2 separate regions of the Homo sapiens genome follow, and region 1 is linked to region 2. The links are contacts of gene promoters, found by promoter capture Hi-C in human tissues and cell types (Jung and others, 2019). All regions are on one chromosome and are shown on one strand. Each heading gives the region's core, a stretch centred on a gene start or on the middle of the fragment in contact. The rest is flanking DNA. Distances are from core to core; before and after follow the strand shown. Region 1 overlaps LOC107986931 (a long non-coding RNA gene). Region 2 holds the start of STC1 (stanniocalcin 1).

Region 1 (4,961 bases), core at 903-3,402, 250 kb before region 2:
GCATTTATCAGCAAGAGATAAGCATACCACAGGGAAAAAAAGTAGAGCTAGCCATTTTCTTGGGATTATTCAGAGTGTAGGTTATACCATGTCACCCAGAGTAGATACTACCATTCGAATGCGTGTCACATCCATTATGGAATGATGCAGGAAGGCTTAGTTTCCTCTTCAATTTACTGTTCTAGTGGTTATGTTAGAAAGTTGCAATTTGGCCTTCTATGAGTTTTTATTATATTAACAAAAGTAATGTTATTAATTACTACAAATTTATTAATAATTTTATAAAGTTACTTTAATAAAAATAAATACATGAATTTATTATAAATTTACTGGTTATTATAAAATTAAATATAATTTATTATATTTTTATTGAATTTATTAAAGAGGCATTATGTTCTCACCAGGGATTTGGGTTAGACAGTTTTTCACATCCCAAGCCACCTTTGCATTTTTCATAGACATGACATCCACGTGGAAGAGACTTGGCATTCTCAACAATGCTTTCAATTGCTAATTCAATTGTTTTTCAATGGCATGCCTGCTACACTGCCCAAAGTTTGAAAAAAAAATCATATATTAAGCAGTTTTCAGAATATTGATTTTTCCAACTAACTTCTTTGGGGAAAATAGATGTCTTCAAATTATTGCCTTACCCTTTCCCATACATGCCCTTGTCCAGGCATTATCACCTTCATGATTAATTCACAGCAACAGATCTTTCTGTGACTCTCTCCCAGCTAGCAGTGTCATGACTGCTTTGCAGAGGGGCACAGTGAATTAAGCAGGTGTGCACTTGTGGCTGTGTGACAGGCAATAGTAAGTCTATGAGTTCACATGCTGATTCATGAATAATCATGTTTCACTAGCTAACATACACAAAAAATTACAATTTTATATATGTATGATGAAATAGGGATTGGGGAGGGCACATTGTAAAATGAGGAAAGATTCTATCCCTACCCTTTCTTATACTCTTATGCTCACTTGATAATTTCTCTTAAAACAATTTAATTCATGTGGATTTCTAAACAACAGCCCATGGCATTTGTAATAACAAATCCAAATCCTTAGCCAGGCTTAGTGGCTCACACCTGAAATCCCAGCATTTTGGGAGGTCTAGGCAGGCGGATCACTTGAGGCCAGGAGTTTGAGACCAGCCTGAGCAACATGTCAAAACCCTGTCTCTACAAAAATACAAAAATTAGCCAGGCGTGGCGGCACATGCCTATAATCCCAGCTACTCTGGAGGCTGAGGCAGGAGAATCTCTTGAGCCTAGGAGGCAGAGGTTGCAGTGAGTCAGGATCACTCCCCTGCACTCCAGGCTGGGCAACAGAGCAAGACTCCATCTTTAAAAAGAAAAAAAAAAGATAAAAGAAAGAAAAAAATTCTTTTTATTTATTTTATTTTATTTTATTATTATTATACTTTAAGTTTTACGGTACATGGGCTTTGTAGGGACATGGATGAAGCTGGAAACCATCATTCTTAGCAAACTATCGCAAGGACAAAAAACCAAACACTGCATGTTCTCACTCATAGGTGGGAAAAAAATTCTTTTAACCTGCTAAGTTGTACTACTTTTTAATTTACTTAGCAAATATTTTAATTTGCTTAGCTATAGTATAGCAGGAAAAAAATAATTTTAAGCTACCACTCACAATCTGATCTTTCCAACTAAATTATTTCAGTTTTTGCTTATTTTCTTCTAGTCTTGTACCAATTTATGCTATATATTAATATATACATACACATGTACAGTTTTAACAGCCAGTGAAATATGTACACTGTTAAATACCTATATAATTTATATGCAAATACATGTTTATTATGGACATACACATATGTACTTTATACTGCTTGTTAGAAACAAAGATTACTGTGTTCATTTAGTATTGAAACATAGCTATCAATCAATGATTTCCCTCATTGCCATAATCGCAATTGTCACTCATCTTGGCTTAATCACCCAAATTTTCTTAACTTCAATTTCCTTTTTGAGGGAAAAAATTATACAAATACTATTGCCCGACTTACTTCACTGGAATATCAGAAGTCCTTTAAAGAGTCAGTGGGAAAATGCACTGCAAAGACATAAAGCTTTGAAATGCAAGGTGCTGTGGTCATTGTCACAACTGCCTTTTACCACTCCTGTCCAGGTGAGAAGCTTCCTCTGTAGGTGAGACACTGCTGCTGCCCTTACGTTCTGTCAAGCCATCTCTTTTACCTGGAGATGCAACTGGCAATTCAAACTCTACCAGGAAGCTTTTAAAAGTGCATTCCACTCTACACTGTCTATAGCTTTAGAGTCTATTCTCTCAGTGCCTTTGTGTTTGGAGGAAGAGCCTGAAGAAAAAGGCTAAGTTCTCATTTTTCATAGTGAAAAGCTAAAATACAATGCCTGAAACAAAAAAAAATAAAAATAAAAAATCAGGAATTAACATCATAAAATGTGTTATTTAGGACATACATGGAAATACCAAGAGAAAAAGCTAAAAGAATGGAAAGCAGCTGCCTATAAGGAGTGGGTGCTGGAAATAGTGGCAGAAGAAACGTGGTTTTCATAATAACCTTTGTAGAACTATTCAACCCCTTAACCTATGTGTATACATATCTTTTAGAACAATGCAAACTTTTTATAAAGTTTACATTGGAAAAAGGTTTACAAAATGCCTTGCATGATGCCTGTTACACGGTACGTGCTTAATATTTTATCATATGTCTTATGGGAGAGACAGAGCTGCTTGTTTTTTCCCCCCTCAAAAGAAGCCTGTGCTCTGATTCTCAATTACTCTCATTGCCTAATGATCGATTTGAGCTTCCTGATCATGGCCTGTGTCCTCCTAACCTAATCTCCTCAGTTAATTTTTACATACTAATCAGAAGGAGGCAACCGCTCCAACTTCTCTTAGTGACAATGCCCTGGAGTCCCATTATACTATTGCTTTCACAACTCTCCATGGTTCAGTGAGTTGCTGAATTTGTATCTCCAAGCTTGAATTCTGCTGAAAGCTCCAGACTTACGTAGCATTGCACTCTGTGACTCTGCTGGGAAACTTAAACTCGATATGAAGTCTACATGAAATAAAAACTTAAATAGACTTTTAAGACCTGTAGCTCAGCTTTAAGGTCTTCCATCAAAACTTCCTTCCTCTGTGGAACTGAGTTGGTAAATGGCTTCATGATCCACCCAGCTAGTGTTCAATCTGTAAATCTGAGACTCGACTATGAGTCTCAACTTTCTGCCTCACTTCTAACATCCAATTCAGAATCAAGTCATGCAGATCCTGACTGTAAAATATATCTCAAAATTGCACACTGTTCTTCACCACCTCTATGACCACATTAGTCCACCTCAATACCATCACTTGCTAGAATGATTACAAGAGCTTGCTAATTACTGTCCTTGCTTGCAAACTTTGCTCTTCAGTGGTTTCCCACACAGCAGGCAAAGTGATCTTTGTAAATACAATCTGGCCAGGCTATTCTCTTGATTTAAACCCTTTAATGGATTCCCACTGTGCTTAGGTCCAGGAGAGCTTTATTATCTGGGAACTATTTCTCTTTCTCTTGAACCATTCTCCCTCAAGCTATCTCCTGCATACTGGCCTCATTTCAGCTTTTCAAGGACACCCAGCCGTTTCCATTTCAGGGACTTTTCACAGAGACTACCACTGCCTGAACACTTGTCTATGATCTAGGCAGTTGAACACCTCCCACTTACACTACGTTCCAGTTCAAATGTCCTTTCTTAAATAGCCTTCTTTTTGGATGCATTAATATTAACATTTATCACAATTTTTATCTTTATATTTATGTATGTGAACATCTGTTGGTTGACTCCCCTTCCAAACTATGTTCTGGGAAGTCAAGGACCATGTCTGTTTTGCTAGCCACTTGACCTCAGGACTGGCTCATTGTAGGTGCTCAAACACTATTCTAAAGCATCTTCCACTAATGGTCAATTCATTTTAAAAGTATCAAGTTAAACAGACTGCAAGGAACTAGCCCAGGGACAATCTATGGGGCTCTTGCTGGCAAAAGGCCCTTTAAAAATGGCTCTTTTCACCCAGCCTTCCAAGTTCCACAGGTCAAGGACACAGCAGGATTCTTGATGACTTATACAAACTCAGCTCAGGAGAGCCAGACCTCCTTCTTCCCTTGGCTCCACATGCAAATAATATGAACATTTTCTTATTAAAAAGGAAAAGAGCATCTAAGCTATTTTATTCTGAGTATTTGTTCAGTAAGGAGAAGTTTACACAGCTTGTGGAGAATTATTCAGCAGGAAATTAAATCTCTGTAATTCTGAATTTTCACTTTGCTTTTAATTGGCAAAGCTTCCTGGCAAACCACTCTCCCCTCTAGAACATTTGTTAATACCACATCCGCCATCAAAATGTGCTTTCAGAGCCAAATTACAAAACAGGTTAAACAAGATGACTCTCTGGAGGTCTGAGATACTAGGTCCTCGATAGGCTATGAACATACCACCAGGGCATGCAGATATGGGCAGCAATTAAGTTTTGCATAGTAATTTGAAGCTTACAAAGTACTCAAACAAGATAACGGATTAACAAAGAAAAAAATTATCTTACATTATCTATGTAAATATTTCATTTCAGCCACCCAACAATTTTATGAGACTGATCTTGGAACTATATTTACCAAGAAGGCAACTGAGTGGCTTAGAGAGGCTGAAATGACTTGTCCAAGGTCACACAACTAATGCCCCACAGGCAGAACTTGAAATTAAAGCTTTTAACAGATTTTTGTATTATCTCATGCTACTTCTCTTCTGCTGAATCTGAGTATTTTGCCATTTCATTTAGGACAGAGAATTGACTTCACCTAGAAACAAATAGTTACAATAAAAAGTGAATTTGTATTTTCAACAAACAACCAACTTGATCCTTTACTTACTAAGGAAAGCCAGGTTGATTTTATCCTTTTACTTTGCTCC
Region 2 (5,220 bases), core at 2,694-5,193:
CTAGAACCAGGCACACAGTCACCTTCCATCAACAAAGGAGAGAAGTGGGGAGTTTGCCCTCTTAATATATTTTCTCACCTTCTTTCTTTAGTAGAGTTTACAGCAATCAAAGACTTGCAAATGGCACAGATTTTCTCATGAATTGAGGACTGTCCACACAGATAATCTGGTGCCTTTATAGAAGAGTAAATAAAAATGTTTTCCCCTCATCTTCCTCATTTTCCTTCTTCTTCTTCTTTGTCTTGAGGTTAGGAAGGCATGAATCAACAGCCCAAAGTCCAATCAAAAAAAACACAGGCTCAGAATTCCCAAAGAAAAATGGTCCAACTTTGGTCACTATGCCAAAACAACCTTGGTGGGTCTTGCATTCTGTTAGCCAAACACGTGCGCACACACACACACACACACACACACACACGAACATTTACCAAGAAAACATGCTCTGTTCTTGGGCTCCTCTCACCAAAAGGCAAAGAGCTGTTCACTGCTTAGCTTTAAGCTAGCCAAATCCAACAAAGCCCCAGAGACTTTTGGCTTAATCTTCTCACTGAACTCATGCCAGCCTTGCACGGGCACAGCCAGGGCATCATCACCCAGTCTTAGGTGTTGGCAGCTTCTCCCACCAACTTCTTAGCACTTTCCCTGCTCAGGGCAATGGCAAAGTATACCCTCCCCTCCCACCCACTGCACTTGGGCGCACTTGGGCGCACATTGCAGTCAAGTCCTTTTTTTAGGTAATTCTGCTGCTCAACAGTATGCCAGAAAGCACCTGCCTAACAGAGACACTAGATAGTCCTGTCAACTAAAAGTCATAACTAAAATATAAGGAGGGAAAAGTCCTCATGTGTATTATCTCCATTACCACTAAACTGGGAGAAAGGTTTTTCCCAAGACAATCCTTAGGTTAATTAATAATTTCCAGTTCATTTAAAACATCTCTCATATTTGTCTCCCTTCCTTTCCTGCCACAACCATTGTAGGCCAGAATCTCATCAACAAAATTCTGTTATTAACAAGTCTTAAAACTTCTGTTCTTTTCTTCCTCCAAACCATCATAAGTATGATGAAATAATCTTGCCTAAACACTTATTTCCACCCATCATTTAACAATTCCTACTCAAGAGCCCGAATAACTTCCTGTTCCTTACAGGATAAAACTCAGACTGTGAAGAGCGCTAAGCAAACTCCTCCATATTCTCTCAGACCCCCAAGAGAAGTTACAAAGAAACCAGACATCACCACCAGGGCCCCCAAGACCCTTTTATCTTGCTATATCACAGTTCCAGACAGTTGCACAATGATTGAGGGCACTTGGATATCCACATACCATGACATTCTAGGCAGAAATTTTACACTGGGCATTTCATGTAGACTTCAGCTCCTTCCCCTAAGGTTCTCAAATGCATTGGCATGCATACTAGTTACATTCAAATCAATGGGCTGACCACTATTGTATTTCTTCAAAGGACAGTTTACCTGTTATTGGGAAACACTTGGCACACCTAGCAATGAACTTCCAGGCACAAGATAGTAAGTGAGCAAAATAAGAAGGAATAATAAATCAACATCAGAAAAAAAAAACACAAACACATCTTGATGCTTGTAGGACATCGTGTTCTGGTGAGAGCAACGGAGAGTTGGAAAAACAAAGTAGATGGCTGGTGGTAAATCATCACCCTACCAAGCCAAGCAGACCAACTCAGGGAAAGCCCAAGAGAAACAAATGGCACTGCCTTAGATGATGAATAATGGCCAAGGAGGTAGAGAATGCTAAAGAACAGAAGTCAAGACCCTTGGGAGGAATACGCATCTGTCCTCTTACTCCCTTTCTGGAAGAGAGCACTGAGAAATTCTATTGCCTTGCCTGGCATCTACTACTTCTAACTAAAGCAATACAAATAACCTTGAAGCTTTCCACAATACAAGCTTTGTTTTTTAAAAATGAAATAGCATAGCTTTTCCTAAATTCTTAAAAAGCAACAACAGCAGTTTACATCTTTCCCCACTGATCTTTCCCTCAAGAGCTTTCCCCCCATCTCCAGCCAGTGCTGCCTGAGCCTGTGTCTTACTATATGAGGTCCTGACATCCCGAACCTTTAGGAAGTATGACTGTGGCTGGTCATCTTCCCAACTCACCTGTAAGTACCTTCAGGACAAGAATAATGAACTTACCTTCTTCTCTATGTCTTCTCATTTATCCTCCCACATTGTCCCCTAGCACTCAGCCCAGAAGGTTCTAAAGAAATACCAATACTGCCTGTTAATATAAATTAAAATGTATTCTTGTTATATAATGTAAATCTGAAAATTCCCTTCCTTTCTTTTAGATATTTCCTGTATCCTTTATTCCTTCTATTCCTTTTTCTAGCAAACTTTCATACTTACCAAACAACCCTATTTTGTGAGGGATAGGCTATCATCACCCAGAACCGTCCGCCGCCCCCCCCCCCCCGCCCCCCACCACCCTATCACCCCACAACATACACAGAGCTGACACTTGGTTTAGTTTGTGGTTAACAGGGGTGGCACTCTTTCTTCAACTTTTGTTTGAAGGTTTTAGGATGCAAAGTAAAGCCACTGGCCCCATTTCTCTGCAAGATTATCCTGCCCAAATCTGTATGAATCACCAGTGGCCATTTCTCATCTACTTCCCCAAAATTATTAAAGGTTTTATTGTATAATACCTTCACCACCTTCCTACCCTAAGAAGTCCTCTTCTGGCTCATTAACCTCCTTCACATGTTGGGGACAAACCTCAGCATTGCCTACAACTCACTTATAAGAAAATATAAGTTTCTATACCAGGCATGATTTGTGATTGCAGTGCAATTTTCCTATTAAGTCTAGAGCTTATCATTCTTCTCTCCTACACATTCTGGTCTTTCTCTACCCCTTCTTTCCATTCTGCCCCCTTTTTTCCTACCCCTCTCCCCAAGAAATGAACTGGTTTCCATTCAGCAGGTTTAGTCTTGCTTTGGCCAGCTTATTGTTTCAAAGTGGTTATAAAGTTGCTGGGCTTGAACACAGATTATTAATTTTCAGGCATTCATGATGTCTCCCTGTTGAGTGTGGTATGTGCAGGTGTGCACATGTGTACCTGGGGTAACTAACACTCCTGGACTATGCAATTTTGCTGGTGACTGAAAAGATGAAGTCAAAGTTGATTTGATTATTGAAGAATCACATTATTTTAGAGGTATACAGAATGTCAGAGTCCAACTTTGGCGTTTTACAGATGGGAAAACGAGGTGGGGCAAGGTAAAAAGACTTAGCCAGAGTCATAGGTTGATCAGTAGGGGGACTAAGGCTTCAGCTCTGAGCTGTCATATCTCAGTCCCCCAAGGCTTTTCCACTCACATAAATTCCCCCTCAAGGGCTCAAATGTGTGAGTGAGAACCCAGGATGTCCACATACAAACAAAAATGCATCATAGACATGTGAACATGTACACACAGAGAAGATAGGGAGTTATTGCATTTGTAGCCTACAAAACAGAACCGAGAATGTGCTGTTAAAATTAGAGTAAAACTGCTGTAAGCAGGTTAAGTTCTCATCTAAAGAGATCACATTTCCCCACCATACCCCTGCTATCCATTTCCCCCAAGTGGCTCATTAGAAAAAAAGATGGCTAGATTTCAAAAAGCAACTTGGAGAGATTTCTATAGGATTTTTCTTTAGTTCAATCAATACAGAGTTATCTCTTACTTCCACGAAAATAGCTTTTTCACACATCTCTGCACACACAGTCACACACACATATAAAACATTGGCAGCAGGTACTTTTAATTTGCTGGAAAATATTTCTAAGAAGTCAAAAAGCTCCAGCTGAATTGCATGCCCTCTTATTGGCTCACCAGACCAGTTGAGGGACCTGATTGGTCCTTGATCCTGAGGACCGATAAGAACGGCTATAAAATCCCTGGGTGCAGCTCTTGGGCCCCCAGTTTGCAAAAGCCAGAGGTGCAAGAAGCAGCGACTGCAGCAGCAGCAGCAGCAGCGGCGGTGGCAGCAGCAGCAGCAGCGGCGGCAGCAGCAGCAGCAGCGGAGGCACCGGTGGCAGCAGCAGCATCACCAGCAACAACAACAAAAAAAAATCCTCATCAAATCCTCACCTAAGCTTTCAGTGTATCCAGATCCACATCTTCACTCAAGCCAGGAGAGGGAAAGAGGAAAGGGGGGCAGGAAAAAAAAAAAACCCAACAACTTAGCGGAAACTTCTCAGAGAATGCTCCAAAACTCAGCAGTGCTTCTGGTGCTGGTGATCAGTGCTTCTGCAACCCATGAGGCGGAGCAGAATGACTCTGTGAGCCCCAGGAAATCCCGAGTGGCGGCTCAAAACTCAGGTAAGCAGCAAACCCAAGAGCGGTTTCTCCCCCAAAGAGCTGTCCTCATTTGCCTCTCCCTTTTGCAACTGTGTCTGTGACGGCTGATCTTGATAATAAATGTGCTTCATGCCTGATGGCAATAAACTGCCAGTGTAATCCAATAGCCTTAGGCAGTGGAGCTCCTTTGTTTAATAAATTGCATGCAACTAAACGAAGAAGCTGGACGCTCTGCTGAGGGTATTTCATTGCATAAGCCTAGCCTGATTGCCTGAAATCTGGCACGTACCCTCTTGGAGGGGGAGGGGTGAGAGGGGAGGAAAGGCTTGAATGTTGGCATGCTTCAAAGCGCTCTCTATACTTTCCAGAAGCTGATCTAAGGTAAGACCTGGCTTGTTTGATGCTGTCCCTCTTCCTTTCCTCTTAAGACTCTACCTCTTCACTTCTTGACTTCTCTACCTAAGAGAATACACAGAAAAGCTCCCTCTTCAGACTGATTTTCAGAACCATAGCCCTCAAGTCTGACAAATCCAGGGCGGATTCAGAGAAAACCCTATACATCCCACCCCCAACCCTGCTGCCTGTCTCCCTCCTGGCTCTGTAGGGCTCCATTCAGTCGTCCCTGCAGCCCGTAGCCAGAGAGCCCCTAGAAAAAAAAAATTGTGAAACGTAGCAGCTGTTTCTCCAAGGGTAAGGTCTCACTTTCGTCTTGACTCTTGGAGCAGTTAATTGTGCATTATCTTGGCTTCTGAAGGAAAAGAATCATTAGGAAGCCTGCATTGACACCTCTGCCTCTTGACTTCTCTGGCTCCACTTGTTCCCCTTCCAATACTGCCCTCTGTCCTCCAACTGTCAGCAAAGACCGGATCACAGGTGTCAAAATGCTGCAGATGATGAT

What was found. The method cuts DNA at HindIII sites, captures the fragments that hold promoters and counts their contacts. A contact is called where the count stands out against the background at its distance.
Region 1: a fragment that was not itself captured here is called in contact with the fragment with the promoter of STC1 in region 2 in 4 of the 25 tissues and cell types used here (H1 embryonic stem cells, mesenchymal stem cells, mesendoderm cells and 1 more).

What each region holds. Positions count from the first base shown.
Region 1 is chr8:24,105,194-24,110,154 of GRCh38, reverse strand. The region is part of intron 2 of LOC107986931 (a long non-coding RNA gene); the gene reads right to left. It overlaps LOC105379328 (a long non-coding RNA gene), which reads right to left. Exons shown (of 3, transcript XR_949589.2): 3 at 3,851-4,961. Among named protein-coding and RNA genes, the nearest start is that of ADAM28, 190 kb to the left of the region's middle. RefSeq lists an enhancer at 3,157-3,794. The HindIII fragment of the contact is 4,994 bases long and covers 1-4,649 here.
Region 2 is chr8:23,853,529-23,858,748 of GRCh38, reverse strand. STC1 (stanniocalcin 1) reads left to right here and starts at 3,943. Exons shown (of 4, transcript NM_003155.3): 1 at 3,943-4,343. The coding sequence starts at 4,226. The HindIII fragment of the contact is 6,962 bases long and covers 1-5,220 here.